2 separate regions of the Homo sapiens genome follow, and region 1 is linked to region 2. The links are contacts of gene promoters, found by promoter capture Hi-C in human tissues and cell types (Jung and others, 2019). All regions are on one chromosome and are shown on one strand. Each heading gives the region's core, a stretch centred on a gene start or on the middle of the fragment in contact. The rest is flanking DNA. Distances are from core to core; before and after follow the strand shown. Region 1 overlaps LMCD1-AS1 (LMCD1 antisense RNA 1). Region 2 holds the start of OXTR (oxytocin receptor).

Region 1 (6,569 bases), core at 3,176-5,675, 320 kb before region 2:
GAATTGTCAAATTGTTTTCCACAGCAGGCTATACCATTTTACATTTTAGTCAGCAATGTATTAGGGTTCCAATTTCTCCACATACTCACCATCACTTGTGATTTTCCTTTTTTTATTATGACCATCCCAGTGAGTGTGAAGTATCATCTCATTGCAGTTTTGATTTTTATTTCCTCAGTGACTAATAACATTGGGAATCTGTTCACACCCTTACCGGCCATTTGTGGATCTGCTACGGAGAAATATCTATTCAGGAACTTTGACCATTTTTTAATTGGGTAATTTGTCTTTTTTGTTGTTGAGTTGTAAGTTAGTTATATATCCCTGATACTAACCCCTTATCAGATATGTGATTTATACATATTTTATAAATATTTACATAATTTTAAATAATCTATTTAAAATAAAATATTTTTAAATAATCTATTTAAAATAAAATATTTTTAAATAATCTATTTAAAAGAAAATATTTTTAAATAATCTATTTAAAAGAAAATATTTTTAAATAATCTATTTAAAAGAAAATATTTTTAAATAATCTATTTAAAAGAAAATATTTTTAAATAATCTATTTAAAAGAAAATATTTTAACTTCAAATAATCTATTTAAAATAAAATATTTTAACTTCAAATAATCTATTTAAAATAAAATATTTTAACTTTAAATAATCTATTTAAAATAAACTATTTTAACTTTAAATCATCTATTTAAAATAAAATATTTTACTTTAAATCATCTATTTAAAATAAAATATTTTAGATAGGTAAAATATTTGTAAATATTTTATCCCGTTGTCTTTTCACTGTCCTGATAGACCATACCTTTTTGAAGATTAATTAAATTCCAAGGCAATGACAGTTCTACAAAAGTTCATAACTGGCAAAGACTTGGAATCCGTGCTGTCAAAGTCTCTCAGAAAAAAAAAACTGAGGCCCAGAGAGCTACAGAGGCTGTTTCAGGGTCTCATGGGAACTCCCCAGCACTGGAAGGGCTTAGAGAACATTCAGTCCACTTCCCCAACACACAGTAAGCACATGCAAACACATACACACATATGATGCCATTTTATGTCTCGGATATTAAAGGCACTTGAAATACACTCTTAGAAAGTTGCCTCTTTTTAGAAGTCAAGGTGTAATGCATCTGCAGAGGTTAATGCATTCAAAGTTAGACTTTCAGCACTAGACAGTATTCCATTAAAAATCTAATGTCAGAGCTTACAAAGAGAAAGCAAAATAGGTACTCAGGGTGGATCTGGAATTTCTTCGATATTGGACATTTCCTTTAATTCAGAACCTATTTCTAAATTAGAGGTATACATTTATTACCTACTAGTGAAATGGGTTAATAACCACAAAGCAAGTGTCTCAAATGCAAACAATGACAAGGGCAAGGAAGTAACACCGAATGTCAAATCCAAAGGAGTGAAAGGTGATAGGCTTACAGTGTTTGTTTTACGATTAAGTGTATGATGAGTTCATGTCCTTTGTAGGGATGTGGATGAAATTGGAAATCATCATTCTCAGTAAACTATCGCAAGAACAAAAAACCAAACACCGCATTTTCTCACTCATAGGTGGGAATTGAACAATGAGAACACATGGACACAGGAAGGGGAACATCACACCCTGGGGACTGTTGTGGGGTGGGGGGAGATGGGGGAGGGATAGCATTGGGAGATATACCTAATGCTAGATGACGAGTTAGTGGGTGCAGCGCACCAGCATGGCACATGTATACATATGTAACTAACCTGCACATTGTGCACATGTACCCTAAAACTTAAAGTATCATAATAATAAAAAATAATAATAATAAAAAAATTAAAGAAAAAATACAGAAAAAAAAAGTGTAAATTCTGCTTTGCTATGTCGCCACTTAAAACACTGAACAGACCAAACAAAAAGGCAAATGAAACACTTCCACGGGCTGTGACAGCCCTCATCCAAGCCACCAGTTTATGATTCTTATGTAAAGTGCCCCTCCTTCATTTTAAATTTAACTAAGTATCTCAGTTCATGACCCTTTCCAATCCAGAGAAGCAAAGATGAACAAAACAAAGTAAACATAATCAAGCACTGAACGAGTGTCTGTTATTTGCCTGGGCCTGGTCCATCTGCTAAACCCAAAGATTAGAAGTGGCAAAACAGTAGAATCAGGTATTGCCACAGCTGTGATGCCTGACAGAATAGTATCAGCCTCACAGGAGCAACAATTAACTAAAAATTTTTTGTACATGTATACCCTATTTATTTCTCCGAAGAGCTTTGGGGGATCCTACAATAAGGAGTATAATAAGATTAATAGGAATAGAAAATTCAGGAAAAGGAAAAAGTGAGAAAGGAAATATGAAGCATAATAGTAGAGATGACTTAGAATCTATGAGTAGCATCAAATTTGACTATGAGCTTCCTAGCAGCCAGGGGGAAAAAAGGAGATACTATGTAATTATTAGTATTAGGACTATGATTCTTAAATCCTTAAAAAAGAAAATATTTTAAAAATGGCAAATTCCCAAAGAACATTCTCAAATGGCTAAAATGACTCCTAATGATTTAAACATAAGGATTTGATAAGTTTTTCTGAAAACTGCCAGCCTACTATTAATGCTTTTCGCTAATGTTTTGCAGTAGGAAAGCCCCACGCCAACTCAGAAAGCTACATACATGCTGTAACTAAGAGAAAATGACATATTAGGAGTTTAATGGGAAGGACTTGGAGGGCTCACACATTCAGCTGCACACATCCCTGGTAGGGCCATCATCAACATCAAAATAGTCCATACTATACATCTCTGGGAGTGGAATAATTCCAGTGTTAGATAGCTTTCCAGGGAAAGAAAATGGATACAGCCCAAGTCCAAAAACCATTAACAACTCCTTTTTTGGGGAGGAAGAACTGTATCTAGACATGGAAAAGATAAATCCCTGGGGAAAAAAAATCCAGTTATACGTCTCCTGTAAGATGATGTATCCTGAAGCAATAGACTCTTCTGTCACCAAGCGTATTAGTCTGTTCCCATGATGCTAATAAAGACATACCCAAGACTGGGTAATTTATAAAGAAAAGAGGTTTAATTGACTCACAGTTCCACATGGCTGGGGAGGCCTCACAATCATGGTGGAAGGCAAGGGAGGAGCAAAGTCACATCTTACATGGTGGCAGACAAGGGAGCTTGTGTAGGGGAACTTCCCTTTATAAAACCATCAGATCTCATGAGACTTATTCACTATCATGAGAATAGCATGGGAAAGACCTGCCCCCATTATTCAATGACCTCCCACTGAGTCCCTCCCATGACACGTGGGAATTATGGGAGCTACAGTTCAAGATGAGATTTGGGTGGGGACACAGACAAACCATATCACCAAGGCTTGGTGAAGTAGCAAAGAAAGAGGCTTTCTTCAAGAGGAGATTGCTGACTGTCTTAGTTAACAAATCCAGCATACCCTGCGGTGCCAGGAAAAATGTAAAGCAAATGTATGTGAAGGTGAGAAATAGAAAGTGGAAGATTAGAAAAAAGGAGAAGTGATTGTGGTCAAACTAATTTCTCCATTCCATTCAATGTCTATAGATACCTATATGTTCTGAGATTAGAGTTATCAAGTCATAAGATGTAACAGATTAATCATTGTGTTCATTAAGAATTTTTTGTAGTAGGCAACCAGAAATTGACTCAAGTTAAGCATAGAAAGAATTTGTTGAAAGGTATTGGAGTGACATATAATAGAATCAAAGGAAAACTAAAAGGAAAAGAAAGCCTCAAGAATCCAGAAACCAGAGCATCTGTGAGCATCTACATAGCAAGAACTCCTGCCCAGTCACTTTAGGATATCCCTCAGCTCAAGAGTTAAATTCCAAGGAGGGAGAGCCTGATTATTCCAGCTTGGGTCACAAGTCCATTCTCTGGCATTTCATCTTAACCAATGGTTATGAATCAGCAGTCATTTTGCTCCTTAGGAGACACTTGGCATTGTCTGAGGACATTGTTGGTTGTCACAACCAGGGGGCATCAGTGGATTTCACAACCAAGGATGCTGCTAAATATCCTACAGCTCACAAGGCATCCCCCTGCAACAAAGAATCCACCCCAAATGTCAGTAGTGTCAAAGTTGGGAACCCCTGATCCTGACTGATGAGTCCAAAAGGAACACAAAAGAGGCATTTCCTCAATGGAAAACTGAGGTATGCAGTGGTCACATCTTCTGCCCACTCCACCCAGATTCCCTGGAATCCCTTTGACCATTTCTCTTCCCCTCCCACAGCTTTGTCTCTACCAGTAACTAACACCAATGTTCTTCAAAGAATAGTCCTGGGCTGCTGGAGCCATTGGCAAGCTCAGAGAGCTGAGAATGCCTGGGTGTTTATACCCACATGGGAGACCCATGGTGGGGGAACAGGAAAACTCAGCCCTTTTGCCTCAAGTCAGGTGTCATTCACACTCCGGAGCTCCCATAGGATGGGGCTGAGGCTGGGACTGCTTAAATGGCACCCTTGCTCAGCATCTCCCTCGCCTCAGCCCTACTTCCTCACTGCCTTACCAGTTTCTTCCAGGAACACTCTCTTAATAACTCATTTGTACCCAAATCCCCACTCAGGATGTGCTTTGGGGGAACCCGGCCTAAGATAAGGTGCTATTGCCAAAAAAAAAGTGGGAGGATTGCTGTATAGTCAAAAACAATAGCAAACCACTATAATCATATGAACTCTCCTGCCTGGGTTTCCTGTTCTCCCCTCACTATATAAAAAGGTGAAAGATAGAAGTCATGCTCTTATTTAGATGCAGCGACCAGGAAATGCTCCAGCAATCTCGTATCCAGAATTAGACCTCCACAAGCCGAACCAGAGACATAAGGCTCCAAGACAGAATCAAACAAGTTGATGCTTTCTGATTATTAATAACAGGTTGACTCTTTCTAATCACTGATGACACAAACAGCAAAATCACTTCCAGCACTGAGCATCAGACTTCATCTCTGTGGATGGCTGGAGAGGCAGCCACCTCATCCAGGCAGGAAGAAAAGATTATTCATAGAGGAAGAATTATGATGCGTAGTCACAAAAATGAGATGGAGAACGGCACAAGAGAACCCGAAGTATCAACCCCTGGGGAGTTGAATTGCTAGTTCCTTGTGAAAATTCAAGCAGCTGAAATGCAAGGTTTAGATGAATGCCTTATGAATGAAATATAAGAGATTACTAGTCTGCAGATAAGAAAATTAGACGTTTGCAAGCGGCACAGAAGAGCAAAGGAAGTAAGCAATCTTTACAGATCGGCAAACAAAGTCCTTCAAGTGGATTGAAATCAAACAAAGGATATTAAAAGACACCTAAAATAGGGGCAGAAAACTGACCTCAACTCTGTTGCCTGTCAGGTAATGCCATTAGGGGTTTTAAGTAAGATTGAGGATGCACTCTTCTAAGGCTATGGAACTGTCCAACACAGTAGCCACTGGCCCCAGTGAGATGTCTAAATTTAAATTGTTTGAAATAAAACAAAATCCATAATTCAGTTGTTCTATTCCCAGCTCAGTGACTTATTTCGGCCGGTCTTATCCATCTGTGGACCTCAAAATCCCAAGTGGTAAAGAAGGGGCTGACAGAAGGTCTGCAAGATCTCTTCCAGCTCGGGGGTGTTCTTGATTCTGTGGCCAGTCTTGGAAAACCGCTCAGAAGGAATCATCTTAAAATGATCAATAAAGCTTGCATACCTAAAAATTCAAAATGCGTGTGTCCCAGTAGACCAAGAACTCTACTTCCCAGATCCTCCTTCAGGAAAGGATTTGCTACCTCTAGCTCTTGGCTTTTTGGGCTCTGCCTCGGATGCAGAGAGCCATTCCACACAAGGTCATGGCCTCCTGGGAGCAGCCTATATCCAGTGACTGAACAAGGTGGGGGTATAAAGGCCTGGCCATTCTGTACCACAGGAGAAAGCTCTAACAGGCAGTACCAGTTCCTAAGCCCTCCACTGGGTTGAAGGTCTTTGTGGGGCATGCATAACAGTTCAGCTTCTCCTCTGCCCAGCCCTTCTTCTTCCCCACGCTTTCATTGGTGTTGATCACTAACAAACGTTCAGGGTCTGCTTCCAGAAAACCCAATCTGTATCAGTGTGGTCAACGGGAGGTGGCTTGGCAAGGCTGAGCAAATAGAATAAAAGGATTCTGTGGAGAATTGATGATATAACAACAATTAATAGCAATTGTAATAGTGAACAATTATATGATACTAACAATATCCAGGCGCTCTTCGTGTACTTTACACATGTTAACTCTAATGCTCATCCAACCCAATAAATTAAGTGCCATCATTATAAACAGGAAACCAAGGTACGCCGAGGCCAAACAATGGGCCTACAGTCCCACAGCTAGGATACAACACAGCAGGACCCAAATCCCGGCAGGCTGGCTCTGTGGTACTCCCTCTCCTTCTCAATGTGTCAGTGGCGACCCAGAGCTGTTCACAGTCTGACTGGAACCCAAAGGTCACTGCTGCCCCCACACCCTGAGGCTCTTTGCTCCACTCTGGTCTGGCTTTACAGAAGGGGAGGCGGAGACAGACCTGGAAGAAG
Region 2 (7,058 bases), core at 1-2,500:
CCGCGTTTCTCTTCCGACGCGGGTAGGGCGTGCTTGTCCCATTCCCAGGAACCCAACTCATCTGAAACAACAGGGCACAACCGCCGGCCTCGGGTTGCTCAGCCGCCACCCCAGAAATCCCCGTTGGAGGTACCTCCTCTGAGCCACTGCAAATGAGCGGGAATCCTCTACCGGCCACAAGCCCAGAGCCCCCAGCGTGCCAGTTCCTCGGGATGTTCAGCGGCTTCCACTGGGGGAGAAGGGAGGGTCAAAATCAGCAACGTTCCTCCGGGAGTGGGAATCTAAAACCAAATCACCTCCCCGAGGGAATCTCCAAACTACCTACTCGCCCCAGGCTCCGACCCTCAGCATATCCACCTGCCGCGGGACCCCCAAACCAGCCCCTCTCCTAGTAAACATTAATTCAAGTACTTCCTCCGGAAATCCCCAAATAGCCACTTGCCTGGGAAACCCCAGCTCTGGTCCTTCCCCGTCTAACCCCCTTTTCTAAGACGGTCGGCCGTCACTCCCTGAACTTCCACAGCACCTGCTTCGGTGGAAACCCGGTTCTGCAGTCCCTGCTGGGGGAACCCCTGCCTCAAAGCCCAAGATGCCCAAGCGCTGTTCCCAGACCCTGGCATAGACACCTCCCGCGGGGCTCCTCCCCAGCCCGGCAGCCTCGAAAGTTCTGGAACCCCTGACTTGCGCTTTGGACCCAGATAATCAAGGACTCTGAGTCTCAATCCCGAGAAGTCACTTTACAATCTCTCGGAACACCCCGAGCTCCTCCAGGAACAAGGAGTGCGAGGCACCCCACCACCTCCACTCGGGTCCCGATGGCTCCACCGGCCCTAGCCATCCCGTCCACCCCTGCTTAGCACCCAGCTACCTGCACCGAGTCCGCAGGCGAACCTAAAGTTGACTCCCCCCGGGGAAGTTGCACGGCGACTGACGGCCCCAGTGACGCGTGCGCTCCCGGCCCGAGTTGGGATGGCCTGCCGGCTGCACCTAATGTGATGCTAAGCTGAGGTCTCTCACTGGAGCCTCGGTTGGAATCCCCTCGCCGCAGCCTGGCTGGTCGCTGGATGGGTACAGGAGGCGAGCGAGGAGCGCCTCCCAGGCTGCGCGCGCGGACAGCGTCTGGATGCGGCGCTGTGCGCTGGGGCTGAGGCTGCACTATCGCACGGGTCCGCTAGGGGGCGGGCGAGGCCAGCCGCGCAGACCCCTCCGGAGCGGAGCTGGTTCGCCCAGCGTTGGTCCCAGAGCCTTAACAAATGGGTTTATTTTGCAGTGGTTTAAAACTGCGAGAGGGAGGGAACTCGTCAATAACCCGCCCGTTTCTTCCTTTCTTGGTTTAGAAGCTCTTGACTCCGAGACACATAGGAGGCTTGAATAATAATGTTCTTCCCCGGGTAGATAGTGATGAAGTTACAAAAGCATTTAAACTGATTATTTCCCAAAAATGATGTTAATTTTCAGGCTTTTCTCTCCCCCCACACCTCCAGCTTGATGTAGCGGCTTTAGCAGTGAACTCAAATAAGTCTTTGCTTTGGAATACTTTTGTTCCTATTCCCGTTAATGAGGAATTAGAAATGGCCTCTATTCTAAGCAGTGCTGGGAGAGGCGTTATTTTTTCGGTAGTTTTAGAGGAAATTCTGAAGCACAACACTGTCTTCATTTAAAGTGATTCTGCTTGTCTGCGCCCAAGAGCCGTTTCTGCCTCCTTGTCGCGCTTCGGAATTAAAATTCTAAATGATGCCAAAGGAAGATAAAATGTTAAAGACAGCTTCTCAGCCTCCCTGCCCCTTCTCTATTCTAAAATCATTTTTTGAAGTAATTTACAGTGGCCAAGAATTAAGTCAGAAAAAAAGGCCAGGATTCAAAAATAAACAGGGCTCTTTAAAATGCATTAAATGTGTATTTCCTCCTGACATTTCACTTCTCCGTCTTTTTATTATGTGGAGAGACTTGAGTTAGCCAAGGACTGGGTTTCCTTAATCCACAATTACAGCCCCATGCCGAGATATCCCAGGGGCCAACCTTACAGCACCTGGATCCCAGGGTTCTAGCTGAGTAATCATTCCAGAATGGGGCTGGGAATCTTGACAGCATTGCCAAGGGGTGGCAGGCAGTATTAATCAATATTAGTCAATAGTACCTATCGGCCTCGAAAATTACAGATTAAAGTTACAGACGACTCAGGTGAGAATGAAGTGACCTTGGGCAAGCCCCTTCTCTTTGGGCCTCAGTCTCCTCATATGTAAAATGAGAGCACTGGTCAAGATAGCTAATGTCTGAGGTCCTGTCCCTCTGGTTTTCTGAAACTGTATAATCTGTGCAATCTGAGGGTTCAATCCTAGCAGGTAAAACACCCCTGCCTCACTCCACGGCTGGATGAAGGCAGATTTTTCCCTATGAGCCCCTGACCGGTGAATGTGAGAAGGAAAACACTGGCCTGTAGAACCAAGCCTGCCCTTCTTTCTCCTGGAAGACAGCTGCTTTCTAGGGAGCAAGTTTACTGAGCCACTTCACCAAGGACAGACTCTTCTACCCTTTGTAGGGAAGCCTGCCTACCTGTGTGGTCCTCGCGTAGCCCGTGAGACAGCCTAATTCTGGATTCACCTAACAGGGCTATTTAGTCTCATGCAAAAGGTAAATTCTCTAACTTAGTTTTAATCTAAACAACAACAATAACAACAACAGTAATAGTGTGATCCCCATTTCCTGTCTTTTGTTTTATTTCTCATTGTGTGCAGAAACCAGGCAGGAAATAGAGAGGTCCCCTTGAAAACTCCTAACAATGAATAAGACATGCTCCTTCACCTTTGAGCTTCGGCCAGGGAGAAAAACACATATTAGATTGGTGCAAAAGTAATTGTGGTTTTTGCTATTAAAAATAATGGCAAAAACTGCAATTACTTTTGCATCAACCTAATATTTGCAGTGTGACAACAATAAATGATGTTACAGAAGTGAGGACTGCTGGGGGCTGAGGTAATACTTGGGAGATCGTTTTACAAAGAGGTAGCTGGATTTCAGAGCTCCAGAATGAGTTCTCCAGGAAGCAAAGAAAAAAGGCATACTTCTCAGAGAGTGGTGCAGGGGAATCACTTTGGCGTTTTGGAGGAAGGACTAAAGATGAATTGCTTGGTGCCTAGCACATTGCCAGCACTTAATACATACAGTTGGCCCTCTATATCCCTGTATCTGTGAGTTCAGTGGATTCAAACAATCATGGATTGAAAATATTCAGGAAAAAAAATCCTCAAAGTTCCAAAAAGCAAAAATTGAATTTGTCATGTGCCACCTACAACACTGAATGCACACAAATGCAGTGACGAGTGACATTGCATTAGGTGTTACAAGTAATCTTGAGATGACTTAAAGTATGTGAGAGGATATGCACGTGTTATATGCAAATACTGCTTCATTTTATATCAGGGATTTGTGTACCTTGAAGGCTCCCGGAACCAATCCCCCATGGATACCAAGAGATAACTGTACTTATTGATGCTAAAGGAACTTCAAGGCCATGTAAAGGAGAATGGGTTTTATTCTGTAACCCAACATTCCCCAAAATATGGGATGGAATACTTTCTGATAGTGTTAAATGTGAATTTAATATTGAGTGATACTGAATAACAGGGAGGAAATTCAGTTCTCAGTTCTGCTTACTTTTGACGTCAGCAAAGAGAAAGTCTGATATAACAAAAATCATGAAGGTGCTAGTGTAAAGATGACTGAGGTTAGAAGGCATTGGTGGGGAAGGTGGGGTGCCTGGAAGGACTGCAAGCAAAACAACGTACTCAAATCTGTGCTTGGTGAGAGAATGCTGGTAGCCACAGGGAAGATGGGAAAGGAGATACTGGCATTATGAAGGCCTTGGAGATCCAGGCAAGAGATGCTGTAGGCATGGACAAAAGATGTGACATTACAGGGTGTCTTTCGGTCTTCCAAAGAAACAGAACCATTGGGATGTATATATGTAGAGAAAGAGATTCATTTAAGGAATTGGTTCATGTGTTATGGAGGCTGGCAAGTCCAAAATCTTCAGAGTGAGCTGACAGGCTGGAGACCCAGGGAAGAGCTGATTTTGCAGGTCAAGTCCAAAGGTCCTCTGCTGCGGAATTCCTTCTTGCTCAGGGAGGTCAGTCTTTTGTTCCATATAGACCTTCAACTGATTGGATAAGCCCACCAACGTTATGGTGGGTGATCTACTTTGTTCCAGATGTTAATCTCATCCAAAAATACCCTCACAGAAACATCCCGAATAATATTTGACCAAATATCTGGGCACCATGGCCCAGCCAAGCTGACACACAAAATGAACCATCACAGACAGAGATTCAGCAATCCCTGATTTACAAATGTCTTCATCTGTCTGAGTATCCGGGCATCTTTTTTTTTTTTTTATTTTAAGTTCTGGAGTTCATGTGCAGTATGTGCAGGTTTGTTACATAGGTAAATGTGTGCCATGGTGGTTTGCTGCACCTATCAACCCATCACCTAGGTATTAAGCTTAGCACATATTAGCTATTTTTCCTGATGCTCTCCCTCCCTCTGCCCCCGTGACAGGCCCCAGTGTGTATTGTTCCCCTCCCTGTGTCTGTGTTCTCATCATTCAGCTCCCACTTATAAGTCAGAACATGTGGTGTTTGGTTTTCTGTTCCTGTATTAGTTTGCTGAGGTTAATGGCTTCCAGCTCCATCCATCCTGCAAAGGACATGATCTTGTTCCTTTTTATGGCTGCATAGTATTCCATGGCATATATATCTATATATATCTATATATATATATATCTATATATATCTATATATATATAATCTATATATATCTATATATATATAATCTATATATATCTATATATATATAATCTATATATATCTATATCTATATAATCTATATATATCTATATAATCTATATATATATAATCTATATATATCTATATCTATATAATCTATATATATCTATATATAGATTATATAGATATAGATATATATATATATATCTCACATTTTTTTCTTTATCCAGTCTATCATTGATGGGCATTTGGGTTGATTTCATGTCTTTGCTATAGTGAATAGTGCTGCAGTGAACATACATGTGCAGGTATCTTTACAATAGAATGATTTATATTCCTTTGGGTATATACCCAGTAATGAGATTGCTGGGTAAAATGGTCTTTCTGGTTCTAGGTCTTTGAGGAATTGCCACTCCATCTTCCACAATGGTTGAACTAATTTGCATTACCACCAATAGTGTAAAAACATTCCTATTTCTCCAGATCCTTTACAGCATCAGTTGTTTCTTGACTTCTTAATAATCACCATTCTGACTGGCATGAGATGGTATCTTATTGTGGTTTTTATTTGCATTTCTCTAATGATCAGTGATGTTGACCTTTCTTTCATACGTTTGTTGGCCACATAAATGTCTTCTTTTGAGAAGTGTCTGTTCACGTCCTTTGCCCACTTTTTAATGGGGTTGTTTTTTTCTTGTATCCAAGCATCTTAAAGGTGGGGCCAATATTGTCTATACCTGTACTTCGAAAGGCCTAGGTCACTATAGAATAGGCACCTTTCAGGTATTTGTTAAATACAGAAGGATAAAAGGAAGGGGGAAAGGAGGGAAGAAATAAACATCTCCATGGGCAGAACCAGGCCCTCTGGGGAAGGTATCCTGCCCAGAGAATGACCTGTCCTGTACCCACTTCTGCCTCTGGGAACTGGGTCTGAGTTTTAGCATCTTGGGAATTTTCCAGCCCTGGCACATTTATTTCAACATGGATCCAAGCCCAAGCGGCCTTTGCTCTATTGTCAGAGTGGAAATGAGCTATAAACACATCCAACCTACCCCCTCCCTAACATCACCGCCTCCCCAGCCTGCCCCCAAATAACTTCTCAGCCTCTGCTTGGGCTCCTAGCTCCAGGAGGGGGGTCAGTGACATGCTCTCAGGCATAAAGGCTGAGAACACATTGTAGCAATCAGCCTGCTGCTGGCACACTTGATCTTCTTACATTTATAGCTCTGTGCGGATGCAGGCACATCAGGGCACATGGGCTGACCTGGGAAGTTCCTGAGGCCGTGCCAGGATGCTGTGTCAGGAGGCCACTGCTTATAGGTAGAACTTGCACGGATTCCTTCTAGCCTGTGTGATTTTGGACTTCCCAGCCTTTGTTTTCATTCCTGTGTTCCATGCAGGGTGGAGAAAGAGAGAAAAATGTGCTTTCCTATTGGAGAGAGCTCTGAATCTGCAGCAGTAAGTGCTTGCTAGCATCTGGATTTTACCACGTTTTGTCAGCGTGGCTAAGGTACTGAACTTCTCTGAGACTTGGTTTCCCCAGGTGCTGATCACATGAGGCTGTGTGTATAAACCAAACTTAATGCACATGAAGAGTGCTTCACAAACAGCAGAGAACTATACAATCAAATCTTTATTCCCATGCTGACAATCCTGACCCCAGGACCACTCCATGAAAATAGTGTCTGATCCAATCAACCTCCATCTTATTAGTCTTTCTGGATGGAGTTCATAATATTTTCAATTTAATCAGACAAACTGCATCTTGGAAGGTAGGGGGAATGTCACTGTGCCAGGCAAGGAAAGTAACTCCTTTGAACCCTAACTGGTGAGATGGGGATACTGACTCTTTACCTTTCAGGGAGGCCTTTCCTGACCACCCTGGCCCACTGAGAAATCATTATTTTCTGAACCTCTCTAGCATGACCAAAAACTATATTTACAGTATGAATGTGCTCAGTCTTCCCAATCCAGTTATAAGTGCCTAGAATTAGTCCCATATATCACAGTCCTTTCTATATTTGCCCATCATTTTCCTATCATGCATGCCTATGAATGAAAATGTGTTGAGAAAATGGCTGATGGATTACCCAAGAACACCCCTTAGCAAATGAGTCACCAGACTCAGACCCCTGCTTCCTAGAATGGTATTTTTATGAAAATCAAGTTGAAGGAGGGCTCTTTGTGAGAAAGGATGTTGTTGATCCCTGTGTGCCATTCTCCCCGAGAGAAAGCGATGACAGAGATAAACACGAGGCTTCTAATTCCATAGACATG

Evidence for each region. Contacts are between HindIII fragments. The study calls those that stand out against the background at their distance.
Region 1: a contact is called between a fragment that was not itself captured here and the fragment with the promoter of OXTR in region 2, in 1 of the 25 tissues and cell types used here (small bowel).

What each region holds. Positions count from the first base shown.
Region 1 is chr3:8,446,870-8,453,438 of GRCh38, forward strand. The region is part of intron 3 of LMCD1-AS1 (LMCD1 antisense RNA 1); the gene reads right to left. Among named protein-coding and RNA genes, the nearest start is that of LMCD1-AS1, 52 kb to the right of the region's middle. The HindIII fragment of the contact is 5,954 bases long and covers 1,449-6,569 here.
Region 2 is chr3:8,768,363-8,775,420 of GRCh38, forward strand. It overlaps OXTR (oxytocin receptor), which reads right to left and starts at 1,251. Exons shown (of 4, transcript NM_000916.4): 1 at 869-1,251; 2 at 134-229. RefSeq lists enhancers at 47-718, 1,366-1,415. The HindIII fragment of the contact is 11,538 bases long and covers 1-7,058 here.